2 separate regions of the Homo sapiens genome follow, and region 1 is linked to region 2. Evidence: promoter capture Hi-C in 16 types of primary human blood cells and fetal thymus (Javierre and others, 2016). All regions are on one chromosome and are shown on one strand. Each heading gives the region's core, a stretch centred on a gene start or on the middle of the fragment in contact. The rest is flanking DNA. Distances are from core to core; before and after follow the strand shown.

What was found. Contacts are between HindIII fragments. The CHiCAGO score rates a contact against its expected background, and 5 or more counts as called.
Region 1: a contact is called between a fragment that was not itself captured here and the fragment with the promoter of HOXB-AS2 in region 2, in 15 of 17 cell types (naive B cells, naive CD4 T cells, total CD8 T cells and 12 more). The highest score is 10.5, in naive B cells.

What each region holds. Positions count from the first base shown.
Region 1 is chr17:48,353,116-48,358,071 of GRCh38, reverse strand. All of the region lies in intron 3 of SKAP1 (src kinase associated phosphoprotein 1), which reads left to right. Among named protein-coding and RNA genes, the nearest start is that of SKAP1-AS2, 61 kb to the right of the region's middle. The HindIII fragment of the contact is 1,511 bases long and covers 1,685-3,195 here.
Region 2 is chr17:48,554,316-48,559,447 of GRCh38, reverse strand. HOXB-AS2 (HOXB cluster antisense RNA 2) reads right to left here and starts at 3,291. Exons shown (of 2, transcript NR_046610.1): 1 at 2,090-3,291. HOXB3 (homeobox B3) reads left to right here. Exons shown (of 5, transcript NM_001384749.1): 3 at 3,830-3,917. The HindIII fragment of the contact is 1,381 bases long and covers 2,031-3,411 here.

The DNA of each region.
Region 1 (4,956 bases), core at 1,191-3,690, 200 kb after region 2:
ACCTAGACTATCTCAACCTATACTACTTTTTAAAAAAAGAAATATTCCAGCATGTTTTTCATGTCTTTTGGGGATTTAATAAGGGGGAAATGAACCCAGGCTGAATACTCCTGCCTTTGGCTTTGACTCAACCTTTTAACATCAACAGTCTTGACAGCTGCTTTTGTGGCTTGACTTCCTTCAGGCATTTTCCCCCTTTTTCTTATTTGCTACATTTTATACAAATTAATCTGTAGCAAGTGGACACACACACAAACTGTTTTTGAAGTTAATTACTAATTTTGATACCTTTTCAAATAATTTACTTCCTATACATCTACTGGTAGGGTGGTTTTTTTAGTGGAATAATGCATTTTTAAAAGGGCAGAATAATGCATTTCAAAATTAATGCAGCAATTGTTTTGCAATGACTATCAAAGATTCTTCTTTTTTCTTTTTTTCTGAGACAGAGTCTCGCTCTGTCACCCAGGCTGGAGTGCAGTGGCACGATCTTGGCTCACTGCAAGCTCTGCCTCCTGGGTTCAAGCAATTCTCCTGCCTCAGCCTCCCGAGCAGCTGGGACTACAGGCGCCCGCCACCACGCCCGGCTAATTTTTTGTATTTTTAGTAAAGACAGGGTTTCACCGTATTAGCCAGGATGGTCTCGATCTCCTGACCTCATGATCCATCCGCCTCAGCCTCCCAAAGTGCTGGGATTATAGGCGTGAGCCACTGCACCCGGCCAAAAGATTTTTTTTTTAACAAAAAGACTCACTTTTTTCCTTTCTAAAGTTAACATTTCCCAAGATTTTTATGTCCTTTCTAAAAGTCCTTCCTATTCTGTAGTAGATGATATTAAGATATAAAAAAAGAACTAAATTTTATGCAGGTAAAAGAAATCATTGGAATCAGGTAATGCTGCCTTCTGTATTCCCTATACAATGTATTATGTACAAGGATGTTCATGATAGCATTGTTTGGAATAGCAAACAGACAGCCTAAATGCCCAGCAATTGGGGACTAGTTAAATAAACATACACCCATTTAATGGAATGCTATATAGAGTTAAAAGAAAATGATACATATATATGTAATATGTATGTAATACGTAATATGGAAGGTTCTCCAAGGAGTATTGTTAGATGAAAAGGGTAATTTGAGCAAACTAGTGTGTATAGTTTGTTTCTGTGTGTGTGTGTGGCACAAGCACACGTGTTTTTATTTGTATATAGAATATTTTTGGAAGGATACATATGTATCTATTAACAGTGGTAATCACTGTTGAGGGGGATACTGATATGAATGAAAGAGAGAATATTCTTTGGTACTATTTGAATTTTCACCATGTGCATGTATTATTTTTTAATGTTAAAAACTGGTTAAAATAAAAAATGAGATAAATCTATATTGCTGATATGGAGCAGTTGTCAAGATAAATGGTTAGGAAGAAAAGCTGGATACAGAACAGAACAAATGTTACCATTTGTTTAAAAAGAGGAAAAAAATACATATGCCACACACACAGAGACCCTTGTTATATTAGATACAAAAATTCATAGAACACCCAAGAAATCTCACAATGGTTGTCTCTGGAGAGAAGGATCAAGAGAAGAGAGGATAGATGAACTTTCATTATATGCCTTCCTGTAACATTTGAAGGTTTTGCTCTGGGCATACTTAACTTTTTTTATTTAATAAAGAAGCTTTCCAAAACAAACAAAAAAACAGCATGGTAGTAATCTATTTTTCAGTAGAATCATGATTAGCAGTTTCTTACCCACTCAAGTTTTCATCTATCTATCTATCTATTTATTTATTTATTTATTTTAGTTTTTGAGACAGAATCTCGCTCTGTCACCTAGGCTGGAGTGCAGTGGCTTGATCTCGACTCACTCACTGCAGCTTCCATCTCCCAAGATCAAGTGATCCTCTCACTTTGGCCTCCCCAGTAGCTGGGACTACAGGCATGAGCCACCATGCGCAGCTAATTTTTGTATTTTTTGTAGACATAAGGTCTCACCATGTTACCAGGCTGGTATCGAAATTTTGGGCTCAAGAGATTTGCCCACCTCAGTCTCCCAAAGTGCTGGGATTATAGGCATGAGCCACTGCTCCTGGCCTATTTATTTTGAAATGTTAATTAATGGGAAAGGCCCTGATGATGGTATAAAACAGCAGCATTCTCTGTTGTTTAATGTTTGAGAACGTTGGTATATATAGGTGTGTTGAGTTTACTTATCACTTAAAAGTGAATTTTTTTTTTTTTTTAGACAGAGTCTCGCTCTGTCACCCAGGCTGGAGTGCAGTGGCACGATCTCAGTTTACTGCAACCCCCACCAATAGGTTCAACCAATTCTTATGCCTCAGCCACCCAAGTAGTTGAGATTACAGGCATGTGCCACCATGCCCGGCTAATTTTTGTATTTTTAGTAGAGATGGGGTTTTGCCATGTTGGCCAGGCTGGTCTCGTACTCCTGGCCTCAAGTGAAAAAGTGAATTTAAAAATAAATTATATGGCCAGTCATGGTGGGTCACATCTGTAATCTCAGCCCTTTGGGAAGCCGAGGGAGGCTGATTGCTTGAGCCTGGGAGTTCCAGACCAGCCTGGGCAATACAGAGAGACCCCATCTTTATAGAAGATACAAAAATTAGCCAAGCATGGGGGTGTGCACCTGTGGTCCCAGCTACTTTGGAGGTTGGGGTGGGAGGATCACTTGAGCCTGAGAGGTCAAGGCTGCAGGGAGCTGCAATTGCACCACTGCACTCTGGCCTGGGTGACTGAGTGAGACCCTGTCTCAAAACAAAAACAAAACAAAAATAATAACAATTTTAAATTAGTATTGTATAATACTCATGGTGACTGATAATGATATCTTTTCTTACCCCATCTTAGTCTTTTTAGAAGTTCACAGAACTTCAGATTTTCGTCTTCACATAGATGTCAAGGAAAATCAAGTCACTGAAAATTAATGACTGCTTTAAGTTTGTTTGATTAGCCCAGGGGACTTTGGTTGAGGAAAAAAACAACTTATAAATGATTTCTCTTAGAAGGTATTATTCCTGGACTAACACAGAAAATCAGGTGAGGAGTACAGTTTCTGAGCATAGAATTTTTACATAAGAATTAGTGTTCATCAAGACTTGTGCCTCTAACAAACTTTCATGTTCTAAACACAAAATATTGAGAGAAAAGTGTAGTCCATTTGAATACAAGCTTTTTTGTTTTTTTTGCTTAAAACTTTTTTGTGAGTAAGTAGGTTAAGACTTCAGACCTGAAACCCAATGAATTTGCTTGATATTTTGAGGCTAAATAATGTAATAGGTGGACCCAATTCTATTAGAAAGCATTTATTTTTCATTTGGCTTCTCATCAACACATGCTTCTCTCAGAAACTTGTTTATGAAGATGGCTAAGTATCACTAGCACAGGAAAGGGACTGCTAAGTTATAGGCAAGGGGATTTATATGACATATAAAATAAAGATTCCAGTTTCTGCTGACTCTTGTGAGGCAAGTAGTGGAAGAACCAATCTTGTGAACCCTATCGGTCCTTGTCAGCTGATGTGAATTTAACACACATTTGCCATCCTGGAAAAGTTATTGATCATGATTAATCTCTAAAATGTATTTTCCTAAACTTAAAAAGTGATACCACTTACCCTTAAGATTTATGCACTTTACTTGTGTTAGTGATGCCTCAATTAAAAAGTAATTTTTTTAAATAAAGAGATACTTTTTCATGTGAAACTTTTTTTCCAAGGAACCAAATATTGAACTGAATTCTTGACAGTGAGAGGTTTTGGCTGTTGATAATGATGTTACATACATGTTGTCAAATATGTGAATGAGAATCCCTGTTTGGAGTGGGATGTGGCATGGGGAGGTTGAATCTTGTCACCATTTGCCATTACAGCTTTAGTGGTATTGGAGGTTTATGTTATCACAAAGAAAACTTACCCTTTCTTCAGTATGTTAAAAGCTGGCTCACATGTTTAGGCCTGCTAATCTTACCCATAATCCATTCTTTACTATGTATTATTTTATTTTTACTCCTTGGACTTTTGAAAAACATTTCTTATATCTACCTGTAGCCTGTACAACATGTCTTCTTCTTCTTCTTCTTTTTCTTCCTCTTCTTCTTCTTCTTCTTCTTCCTCTTCTTCTTTCTTCTTTTCTTTTCTTTTTTTTTTTTTTTGAGACAGAGTCTTGCTCTGTCACCCAGGCTGGAGTGCAATGGCGCGATCTCGGCTCACTGCAACCTCTGCCTCCTGGGTTTTAAGCAATTCTCTCTGCCTCAGCCTCCCAAGTAGCTGGGATTACAGGCACCTGCCACCACGCCCAGCTAATTTTTGTATTTTTAGTAGAAATGGGGTTTTGCCATGTTGGCCAGGCTGATCTTGAACTCCTGACCTCAGGTGATTCACCTGCCTCGGCCTCCCAAAGTGCTGCAATTATAGGCATGAGCCACTGCACCCGGCCATCTCATTCTTCTTTAATGGAAGATATTGGAATCCAACTAGCCTTGTAGTTTCTCTCAAGAAGTTTCTTAAGTAATGTTGGCTTACCAATTGGGGCATAGTAGACCCCAAAATGTATCAGGATTGTAAATAAGTGCTAAGGCCTACTACAACTTGCTGTTTGGGAGAAAGGAAAGATGGGACAAGAAAGCAAGATGAACCAATAGTAATAAAATTGCTACATTTATGTGGCATTATATATTTTTCAAAGGCTTTTCCTGCTCTGAGACTTAAAGCATGATGGTGCCAGAAAGGAAACACATTCTTTAACCAAGCCAGGTCAATGCTATATTTAAGTATCCAACAGAATCAAACAGAAGGTGCTGGAAAAAAATCAGTATATTGATTTCACTAAGCCTGAGGTGGCTGTTCTAAATTTTGCAAGCATGAAATTCATACCAAAAAGTGATATTTTGAAAAAATTACTACATTACTCGATAATAAATTTCAACTATGAATT
Region 2 (5,132 bases), core at 2,042-4,541:
ATCTCGCCCCAGGCTTACAGGTCCTAGCTCCCAAGCTAGCCTTTGGGCCAGGCAAATTTTGTGTGGATTGAGCCAGGGGCAGGATCCTTGACTGCCCCAAGTCTGAGATCAGAAATTGGTTTTAAAAGAGCCAACCAGTATGCCCTTATTGAGAGAATTTTTGTTTGCTAGTTGATGCATTTTTGGGGGAGGAGAGAAACAGGCACGATCCCGCCGCCGAGGTCTAGAAGGGCGGGTAGCCCTTGATTGTTCCAGAGGGTTTAAAGTGCTCCCGTCGCCTGATACTGGGTACCCAGTGGGGTGGGGGAGAGAAGTGCCAGAGCGAGTGCTCTGGCTCTGAAGAAACGGAATGGAAGAGGAAAAGATGTCTGTGAAGAAGGGCATTTTCTCTAATCTTTACCCTTATTATTTTTTTACTTCATTAGTTTATGCTAGTGTCTCTGTCTCTTACTCAATTTTCCTCTTTTTCAATTTCTCTTTCTCCTCCTTTCTCTCTCTCTCTCTCTCACACACACACACACCCTACACACATGGGCACACACACACAGTTTTCCAGGTTTCCCTCCCAAATCCAAGAAGAAATTGTTCCCTCTTCTGTATCTCCAGTCTGTTCCGAAATCATGGCTTCACTCTCAGGGATGATAAGCCCTTCTCCTGCTTCTCTTTTCCCAGACCCCAAAGTCTTCCCTCAGCCTGCTCTGGCGTCCCCCACCCCAAGTTCCCTGCTCAAACTCCTCACTACCAGCCTTTATCCCCTGAAGTTTGAAAATCCCCTGGCTAGCAGCAACACCTCAGTCCAAACAGGGGCCCTTAGGGGTGCCTGTTCCACCCTCCGTCCTCCAGCCTCCCAGCCCTAATCAGAGGGCAGCCCGCCTGCTCGCCAGAGACCTCTGAGAATGGAAGAAAAAAGGCAAGACAGAAACTAAACTGGGATCTAATTGCCTCCCAAGTATTCCAAATGGGCTCTGTACTCCAGAATTAAGAAGCCCCCACTCCATCTCCTACCGCATTTGGGGGTATATGTCCTCTGAGATTTTCTCCAGGTTCATTTTCTTGCTTCTCGGTCCTCTTTTTCACTCCCACCCCACTATGCCCCACTGCCTTCTGTAGCCCGAGGGACCACAAAGAGTTGAGGAGGCTTGGGGAAGGGAGGGGTCTGCTGTTGTCTCTGGAACACTCCTCCACTCCCAGCTCAGCTCCAGGCCCGCTTCTCCTGCAGCCGGCCCGAGGCTGCCTGGGTGCCTTCTGGACTCTCGTGTTATTCCTAGAGGCAAAGCTGCGCAGTCCCAAAAGCGATCAGGTTCTCCTCTTCTCTCAGTTTTACAATGACCTTCTCTAACCCAATGATAGTAACAGCTAGGACAGCAGAGGTTTTGAGGTACATTCTTGGCTTTTTTTTTATTTGGGGGAGTGATAGAAAAAAAAACCCCAAAGGTACTGGTTTCTTTAAGCCTCTGGAAGCCTCCCTGGCCTGAGTCCCTGACCCACCAAGCTCAAAGTTACATGGGGTCTGACCCTGTAGGTCTCTAACCAGAGTGTAGAGATCTCAGGACAGACTTTTTGCAGCCACATGCTCAGGCACCCCTAACAGGTCTCTTTGGGGTTCCAGGCTGGCTTGAGCCCCAAGTCTAGGTCTGACTTGGATGTTTTATTTTCTTGATACTACTAATAAACACAGAAAAATACTAATAAACACAGAATAATAGCTAATAAACACAGAAAAATAGCTCCCACCCTCCATCCCCATGTCCCCCAACCCGTGCTTCCCCCCAGCTGTCAACTTTCTAGGTGGGAGGTGGGGTCCTCAGGACATTACATTCTGAGGCTCTGCAAGTGGCTTCTGTTGCTGGAGGGCAGGAAGGCCATAGGTACCCCCAGTTTATCAGGGCCCCTGGAAACCGGCTGCTCCAAATCACCTGGCCTGACTTAGCCTTGCCTGGAAGAAGTAGGGGCTGGAGGCCAGGGGCCACTCCCTATCTCATCCCAAAGTAGAGCCTGTGAGTGGGGAGAGAGAGGGAATGAGGGAAGCTTTGCCAGACACCTCCAACCTATGCTGGAGGGAACACAAAAGCTGGAAATCAACTCTCACCTTTGTTGTCCCCAGTCCCGTTCCCTCTTCTGGTGCATCCAGATGGGAGAAGGCAAAAGCCAAGTATTCTAACCAGGAAATCACAGGGTAGTGCCTTACATGAAGTTAAGAGGACCAGTTTTCCAAGCTGCCTTTAGAGAAAAGAGTCAGCTTTCTATTTCATCCCCTAGCTCCGAGTCAGCAGTTAGGCAGAGTTGCAAACACTCCTGCTTTGGGAAATGTCCTGGTGCTCTTTTTGTCTTTTCCTTCCTCCCGGAATGACTATTCCCCACCCCCTGTCCCAAATCTGCAGACACCTACATTTTTGGCTCCTGTCTTCCTCCTACAGGCCTCCTCCTTGCCTTTTCCTGCCCTGCTCAAACACACCCTAAGAAAACTTTAGCTTTTGTGGCCTTCCTCACTTGTGCCAAGAGTCATAAATCTTGCAGGGCAGAGAGAAACAAACAGGGTTGTTCTGAATAATAATAATAACCATCTTCCATCTCTTCTGCCAGTGCATTTAAAATTAAGCGACCCTGCTAGTTCTTCTCTTCTTAGAAGTACAAATGTCCTTATCACCTCTTAGCCCCTTCTGCCTATTCGGAGGTGAGAATCATAACAGAAACTTATCCATGAAGTTCTTTCAGCCCGTCTACTGCCAGCCAGTCTGGAGCTCAAACTAAAACACAGAGTCCTCCTTTTGTCACCCTTTTCTCAACCCTCCTCCCCCTGCAAGATGTTCAGAGTTTTTAAAATCATCACTCACCGCTTGTTGTCTGTTCTCAAAAAGAAAAAGGGGGAGGGGTGTTTTTTTTTTTTTTTTTTTTTTAAGTTCTGGTCTTTCCCTCTCCCTTGGTTAGAGACTGGGCCTGGAGACTGGAGGGAGATTTGGGAGGAATAGAGAGGGTGTAGTGGAGGGAAGAAGCCGGGGCTGGAGACTCAGAAGGAGGGAGCCAGAGTGTGAGGGTTGGAGACCCAGAACTACTTTCTAAAAAAGTCCTGGTGTTCCAATTGCGAATGAGTGCAGAGGGGCACCCGGCACCCTCACCCCCGGGCCAGGCCTGCCTTTGACTCAGCCTCCAAATACTACTTCTCATATTAGCATAATAGTTCACTAGTGGGGTATGGGGGGAGCTGTGAACTTCACCGCCCTTCCTTGCCTTTGCTCACCTCTTCCTCCCTGTCCCTCCAATCTAGATTTAAATTTTTACCTGTTCTTTAAGGAAAAAAAAAAAACCCTCCTTCTTTTCTTCTTACTCTTTTTTTGGGGAGGCGGGTATTTTAAAATTTCCCCCCTTCCCCATCACCACCATCACCTTCCCTCCTTATCAGGCATCTAAGCTTGCTAAAGGGGGAGAGGTGGGGGGGTGTGAGCTTGTGTGTGAGTGAGTGTGTGTGTGTGTCTGTGTGGTTTTTTTTCCCTGTGCAAAAGCAGAGGCCATTGTTACGGAGAGTAGGGCGTACCAGTCTTATAGGGCAACCACACTGTGGCGGCTTAGCCCTGCTGGAGCCCGGAGCTGGATTCTGGCGAGCTGAGCCGCCCGGCACCTTTCGGTCTTCTATTTTTTTTCCCGCTCCCCCACCCCCTCCCTCCTGCGCACCCCTGCTCCTAAGCCGAGTGAATTGAAGCGGACGCCGCGCGGCTCCTCTGGCCGGTCTGCCCCTCGGGCTCCCCAGCCGGGGTGGCTTTGCGGGGCGGGGGCGGGGGGGCGGGGGGCGACGCAGCTTTAAACAGTGGTCTTTTTTTCCTTTGCCTTCAAGGAGGGGAGATTTGTCGCCTGCCGCTCGCTCTGGGGCTCGATGTGAATATATATTATGTCTGCCTGTTCTCCCCTCGTCGGTGGCTAAGGTAAGCTGGACTGAAATAGGCTATCAGTTTGTGAATGGCGGAGAGTATGTCTCAATGATTTATGGCCCATATGACTCCAATCTCGGTTCAAGAAGAGTTCACAAGCTTTAAGCTTCCTTCCACGCAGCGACTCTCTCTCTCCCTCCCTCCCTCCCTCCCTCCCTCCCTCTCTCTCTCTCTCTCTCTCTCTCTCTCCCTCTCTCTCTCCCCTCTCTCTTCCTGCTTCTCTCCTCTTTTCTCCTCTCTCTCTTTTCTTTCAGCAGCCAGATCCAGGGCTGAATTTTCTCCGCGGCTGCTAAGAAAGTCTCAACCTTTCTCTGTCTTCCTTTCTTGTTATTTTTCTTTCTCCCATTAATTTTTTTAAGTCCTGGAAGATGGCCTATCCCCTCTCTCGGGGCTTCCCCAGCTATTGTTACTCTCCTGGCTCTCCCTGGGGTGTGCTTGGCAAGGTGGGGTTCTTGCGGGGGGCTCATCTCCCTTCTCCAGCGAGACCCTGGGGGGAAGCCGGCAGCCACCGTCTCCCTCCCTCCCTCCCGAGGAGCCATATGGAACCTGAATTTTTCCAACATGGAGGCAAGGGAAATAGATCTGTTTGGCTTGGTAGAGTTGTTCCCCACCCCCTCTTGTTCTGGATCCCAGATCTTGGGTCCCCTTAGCACCTTTCTCTCTTCCCACTGTCCCGTCCGCCAGGCCTCGGCGCCCTCCAACCCGGAGCCCTGCTGAGCAAAGTCCCGAAGCGGAGTTTCTAAGGCGCCTTTTAATTCGGTTACCTCCAGCTCCCAAAACTTGCTGCCGCCCGCGGGGCTCGGCCCTCGGCCGGCTGGTGTGCTGGGAACCTGCCTCCGATAACCGTTTTGGTGTCCTGATCGCTTGCTCTTCTTCGCCTCCTTGGGCCATCGTAGGTGGCTGGTAGCTTGTCGCCAGTCGCCGCGGCAGCAGCGACCGGCTGAGGCAGCCTGGCAGCAGCAGCCAGGGACTACCCGGGTGCACAAACCTTCCCAGCCCTGTCTGCACCACCGGCGGAGTCTCCATTCTTTCCTATCGCGTCTCTGGCTCCTTCGCTTTCCACACTCGCCTGGCCTCCGTCCCGCGATGGTTTGGGGTTTATTGCAAGGGGAGCGGCAGGAATTTCGGCCCCAGGCATCTAGTTAAATTATTGTTTTATTATTATTACTATCATCATCATCGTCATCATTATTATTGCTGTAACAATCA